2 separate regions of the Homo sapiens genome follow, and region 1 is linked to region 2. The links are contacts of gene promoters, found by promoter capture Hi-C in human tissues and cell types (Jung and others, 2019). All regions are on one chromosome and are shown on one strand. The core of a region is centred on a gene start or on the middle of the fragment in contact, and the rest is flanking DNA. Distances in the headings are between cores, read along the strand shown. Region 1 has its middle 27 kb from the start of EXO1. Region 2 holds the start of MAP1LC3C (microtubule associated protein 1 light chain 3 gamma).

Evidence for each region. The method cuts DNA at HindIII sites, captures the fragments that hold promoters and counts their contacts. A contact is called where the count stands out against the background at its distance.
Region 1: a fragment that was not itself captured here is called in contact with the fragment with the promoter of MAP1LC3C in region 2 in 1 of the 25 tissues and cell types used here (aorta).

What each region holds. Positions count from the first base shown.
Region 1 is chr1:241,819,149-241,822,335 of GRCh38, forward strand. No RefSeq gene overlaps it. Among named protein-coding and RNA genes, the nearest start is that of EXO1, 27 kb to the right of the region's middle. The HindIII fragment of the contact is 3,695 bases long and covers 1-3,187 here.
Region 2 is chr1:241,997,428-242,000,528 of GRCh38, forward strand. It overlaps MAP1LC3C (microtubule associated protein 1 light chain 3 gamma), which reads right to left and starts at 1,671. Exons shown (of 4, transcript NM_001004343.3): 1 at 1,524-1,671; 2 at 1,349-1,404; 3 at 1,087-1,193. The coding sequence starts at 1,581. RefSeq lists an enhancer at 1,656-2,181. The HindIII fragment of the contact is 15,931 bases long and covers 1-3,101 here.

The DNA of each region.
Region 1 (3,187 bases), core at 136-2,635, 180 kb before region 2:
TTAGTACACAGACAAATCATCTTGTGAAAGATGATGTGTTAATACTTATCTTGATCAAAGAAGCATATTAGGCTCTACTGAAACCGAGAGGAAATATTCCTTGCTGTTATATTCTGGTCTCTGGTTGGCAGATTATTAGTGTTCAAGGAGAAGGGTTGTAGAGGTGGTCCCACGTGGACTACGGTTTTATTGCACGATCTGTGAGGTGAGTTCCAAGCCTAAGGCTCTATGACATGGCAGACCTTGAGGTCTGAATTTGGACCTCACTCGACCTCCCTGACCATAAAAGAAAAGCCGATGACAGACATCTCATGGATAACTGAGAATGTGCTCTTTGTCAGCAAAAAAATCACCTGTTGAAATGACTAGTCAGACACCCTGTCAGGATACAGTCAAGACAAGAGGGCCTCAGTCACAATGCATGTGAATGGTGTCTGCAGTAAGCACAGTTCTCATCAATCAAATAAATGGATGTTCCTATTTATAAAGCTGTTCAGTATTATTCCAGCCTGTTAAGTCTTCCAGTATCAAATCAATCATGTCATTCCTGAATCCAGATATTCAACCCTACCTATATGTTAAGAAAATAATCTTCCACAGTGGCATTTGAGGGGTTCCTCCACCAGACTGCTACCTGAAAAATTATCCCTGAATAGCACCCTACTGGATCATCCAATGAAAACGCTGTTTCTGGATGCCTAAGTGTTGAAATTGATACATGCCTTTACATAGAACCTTCATCCCTGTCCTGTGAACACATACAGAAGGATTAGTTTGTCAGACTATCTGATACTTCAAAAGGCTGAAAAGAAAGGATAAGGCACAGTAAAGTTAGGTGAGAGAATGGAGTGGGAAAGTAAGTGAAGTGTGTGTGTGTGTGTGTGTGTGTGTGTGTGTGTGTGTTGAGGAAAGAGCTGAAAAAGAAAACACAGAAAGAACAGAGCAGAATAATTTATAAGCTCTTGGGAGCAATGGTAAGGAAGGAAAAGCTTTGAATTCAGGTCAGATTGCAATTAGCCAAGCTATCTTAGTAAGTAGGGTAGAGAGAATCTGATATCCCATACATTATTTTTATTTGACACTGAAAATATTTATTATATTTTATAGTGGATACACCTTCTGAATTATGTTATAGGTTAACACTGAAGATATGTTTCATCTACTAAACATATAACTGCTGGATAGTTGGGGGAAAATGGCTAGAAGTTTGCTAGGTAGCAGTAGAAAATCTAGCTGGGATTCAAAATATCTCAGGAATAACACATGATACAAATATTGCCTACTTAATCGTGAAATAGACTGCATTTGTATGGCTTGTATTTGTGTACAGGATGACTGTACTTATTTTGGTAAATAGATACTCGTACATTGTGTACACATGTGCTTTTGAGCCCTCTCTTTTCATAGTCTAGAAGTACCATAAAGAAAGGGACCATGTCTAGTGTTTTCTTTATACCTCCTTTAACTATCAGTAGTAATATACTGTGGATGCCCCAAAATGTTAACTTACCTATTTATGAGTTGCTTACATTTATATTTTTCTTAGAGACATCAGTTTTTTTCTCAATGTATAAATAACTAGGTAAGGAATGGGATGGGACATTAATTTTCTCGAGAAATATTGCATGAAAAACTAGAAATACACAGGAAAAAACAAAAAAGATGGTCTCTGCCCTTCAGGTACTTATTGCCTGAGAAAGGAAACAAAGATAGAATCAGATATGGGCAACAACATGTTAGAGGTGCGATGATGGAAGTCAGTACAAGTACCACATGGGCATGGGAAACGTTCCACCTGTAACAAATATATGCCTCTTCTTGCCAGTTACAGGCATCATCTGTATAGGATTCAGAAAGAAAAAAATATTTGTCTTAAGCTGAATGAAAACAATTCTGCAATTTTTATAGGAAATTCACATGACATTAAAAACAGGAAGACAAAAACAACGCATACAGGGTCTGCAAGATTTAGAAATACAGATAGGTAGAGATGAAAGGGATCAACTAAAAGGATTCATGTTTATATAACCAGTCCCAGTCCCCATTTTTCTATTATTAAATAATAGATGATTGCATGTGGTATCTAAGTCAGAATAAACTTTAATTTACAGCTATACCATCTGTACTACTTACTATTTCTATTACGGCAACTTCTTTGAAGAAGGCATTTGATTTTAAAAGGAATGCCATATCTATTTTTAGAATTTTTTTTTTCTACAAAAAAAGGCCATAGACTGGAAGAAAGCACAGAGGCACAGGTGGCTAAATACAATTTTTCAATGAATAGAAATGAGCTAAAAGTCTCTAACATTTCCTTAAAATGTCTTATGATGTCAGAACAAATTGAACGAATAAGTTTATGTATTGCTCATGCATGCACATAATTTATTTGTGGCATAATGACTCAGATGCAGTGTTTGGCTAGTAAATTCCACTTCTGCATTTCTGTTCACTGCCTGTAAATATTATTGTTCTGCCATCCTGACTTAATTATTCCTAGATAAAAAGAGATACACATTTGGAAGAAGGCAAAAACGAAAGATTTTTACAATGTGAAATAAAGGATCTTGATATTAGGCGCATCTTATAGATAGCTGGCCGCATATGGGGAAAATTATATGCTGAAGCAAGAGTTAAAATAAAGGGGTTTATTAATTTTACTACTTTATGTTCTTGTGAAGAGCAGAATGGTAAGGAATACTGCCAGTGGTTATTTGTAAAACTGGATCAGAAATCAGACCAATAGAAAAAATACATGCTTCATACTTACCAGTGCCATGTGACGATTTTATGGTGTCCACAAAACAGTCCAATTGATAGACTCTCTCTTCTGTTCAAATGGCCAGGCCAATTCAAGTGAGAACCAGAATTTGTTTTAGATCTGAGTTTCCAGGACTGTCTCTGGTTCTTCCATAGGTTTTTCTAGAGGGGACTGACCAAGTGGATCTACTCTCATCTGAAGACCATACTAGCCACCCACACTTACTTCAAGTGGTGCTGAATCCTCAAGGAAATTCCCTGACCTCTCAATCCTCACCATCCACAGAGCTAAATCAGACTTTCTTTGTGGTAAAGAACACAAGGTCTAGAATTAGCCTCTCCAGATTACAATTCTGGCTCCGGGCCGGGTGCAGTGGGTCATGCCTGTAATCCCAGCACTTTGGGAGGCTGAGGCAGGCGGGTCACA
Region 2 (3,101 bases), core at 421-2,920:
GAGGATCGCCTGAGCCCAGAAGGCCAAGGCTGCAGTGAACTAGGTTCACACCACTGCACTCCAGCCTAGGCGACAGAGCTAAATAAAGCAAAATAAAAAGACACTCATTCATCGTGTGTTCTCAAAAAAACAGGCTGCAACAGCGATGCAGCTTCCAAGCACTTTTCAACCCTGTTGAAAACTTACTCATCGGGTATATTTACTTTACTCCCAAATCATTTTTTACTGAATCCATGTGTCAAGTGATGTCCTTTATGCTTTAAGAATAGCTGCCTGTTCTTTGCTGTACCTCTGGCTTAACCAAGGGAGGAGTGTGTTTGGGGGATGCTTTTCTCTCTCAGTGTTCTGAGCAGGGAACGTTTCCTTTGGGGAGAAGTCCCCACCCCTAGGCACACATACACTTGGAAAAGGTGCTGGTCTCTGCAACGGACGCGCAGACTCGGTTTCACACAAGATCTGAAAGAAAGGATCTCCCGGCCTAGCTTGAGAGCCAAGACTAACTACTTTAGGAAATTCTTAGAAATGTTGGCAGGTCTTTTTTGTTGTTGTCGTTGTCTGAGGGATTCTCCTTACCTGTTTAAAATAGAGTAATTCTTTTTTTTTTTTTTTTTTTTTTGAGACAGAGTTTCACTCTTGTTGCCCAGGAGTGCAGTGGAACAGTCTCGGCTCACTGTAACCTCCGCCTCCCAGGTTCAAGCGATTCTCCTGCCTCAGCCTCCCAAGTAGCTAGGATTACAGGCACCCGCCACCACGCCTAGCTAATTTTTGTATTTTTAGTAGAGACAGGGTTTCACCACGTTGGCCAGGCTGGTCTCAAACTCCTGACCTCTGCGATCCACCTGCCTCAGCCTCCCAGAGTGCTGGGATTACAGGCATGAGCCACTCCGCCCGGGGTTTAAAATAGAGTAATTCTAAGAGCATCTTTTCAGGGTACTAGTGAATCTAAAAGGTGACTTCAAAAAAATCTCTTTCCTCTCTTCCCCTGACGTGCCCCCATCCCCAAAATAAAACTGCCAAACGAAGAAAGCCCAACAGCCCCGGCGCACCCAGCGCACCTTCCTCCGGGGCACGCTCTGCGCCACCTACCGGATGATGCTGAGGAACTGGGTCATGGTCAGCTCCTGCGGGACCAGGAACTTGGTTTTGTCCAGCGGGGGCAGGAACGTCTCCCTGGGGTAGCGCTCCACTACCACCTGTCAAGAGTGTCAGTCCTTAAGAATGTGACTCAGCGTGAGTGTTAGGAACTTGGAACAGACAGAGGGAAGCTGTTGGCTGCTCTTGGTTTTTCAGAGAACAGGATCGGAACCCCACCCCCACGCCCCCCAGCGGAAGTCCAGTGGTGTCTTACCGGGATTTTGTTGGGGAACTTTGCCCGGATTCCAGCAACTTCCTCTTGTCTGATTGCTGTGAATATTTCAAGCACAAGAGAAGAAGCAAAGATCAAGAAAAGAAGCAAAGATCAAGAGAAGGCCAGATCCGCTCCTCTCTTTAGATAACCCAGAAAGCTACCCCAAGAAATTTACCCAAGCTTTTCCTCTGCTTGAAGGGTCTGACGCTTGGGATTTTCTGTGGAGGCGGCATTGCACTCAGTAGCTGTGTCTGTTTTAAAAAAGAAAAAAAAACTGTCCCGCAACCGGGAACCTAACTCATTCCTCCAGCTGCTTCCAAACTGCCTGCAGGAGCCTGAAGGAGGCCCTTATGTAGGGCTGAGTGACATCAGGCCTCTCCTCTCCCTCCCCTCTCCCCACTCCCCCTCCCTGGGCAGCAGGAGGTCAGTTCTGATGGAAATGGAATCGCCACCTGCTTGCTGGTCAGAGAAAGCCACTTTGTTCATGACCAGTTCAAGATGTTTCTTTGCAAAAGAAATTAGGGTTTGTAATAAAATCATTGGCTGGGCAGCGGACTGTGGAGAGGTAAAACTGCCTTGTGCTGGGATGTTTTTGCCCTTCAGTAGCAAGGGGGGGTCCAAGCTGGATCCACCTCAGCCTGAAGTGTGCTGTGTAGTTCTCACAATGGTCCATGCCCTTTATCACAGAAGGAAACCTATACTAAGAAAGGTGAAGTGATTTGCTCGAGGGCACACAGCAAGTAAGAGAAGCGGTATGGATTAAAACCTAGAGCTGTACACTGGGTGCAGTGGCCCACGCCTGTAATCCCAGCACGTGGGAGGCCGAGGCGGGTGGATCACCTGGCCAACATGCTGAAACCCCATCTCTACTAAAAATACAAAAATTAGCCGGACGTGGTGGCTGGCACCTGTAATCCCACCTACTCAGGAGGCTGAGGCAAGAGAATCGCTTGAACCCAGGATGCGGAGGTTGTAGTGAGCTCAGGTCACACCATTGCACTCCAGCCTCGGCAACAAGAGCGAAACTTCATCTCAAAACAAAACAAAACAAAACAAAAAAAACCCAGAGTTGTTACAAGGAAGTCCAAGTACTACACTCCAGTATATTCTGTCACTTAGTTTTCTCTGGGATAAAAGAAGGAAGGAAGGACAATTGTCCCCAAGATCTTGCTTTTAGAGTTAAGAAACTGGGTCTCTGGTCATACATAGGGGAAACCAAACTCCATTTCTCCTATATTCTCACAACACAGATCACTTTTGACACTAGATGTGTGTGTGTGTGTGTGGGTGGGTGGGGGTTCCCCATACACCGAGCAATCACTTCTACAGTGGACACCAGCTAGGTGTCCTCCAATCCAACTCTGACACTGTCTACCTGGAGACAGCATCAGATCGGGCTGAGGGCTCTGTCCCACAAGACTGTCCCCCACTTTCAATGCCGATTGCAAGCCCCAAGTTGTGTTTGTTGTTTTTTTGCTTGTTTGAAACAGAGTCTTGCTCTGTTGCCCAGGCTGGAATGTAGTGGCACGATCTCAGCTCACTGCAATCTCTGCCTCCTGAGTTCAAGCGATTTCTCCCGAGTAGCTGGGATTACAGGCACATGACACCATGCCTGGCTAATTTGTGTGTTTTTAGTAGAGAGGGGGTTTCGCCATGTTGGCTAGGCTGGTCTGAAACTCCTGACCTTGTGATCCTCCTGCCTTGGCCTCCCAAAGAGCTGGGATCTCATGCGTGAGCCACTGCGCCCAGCCCC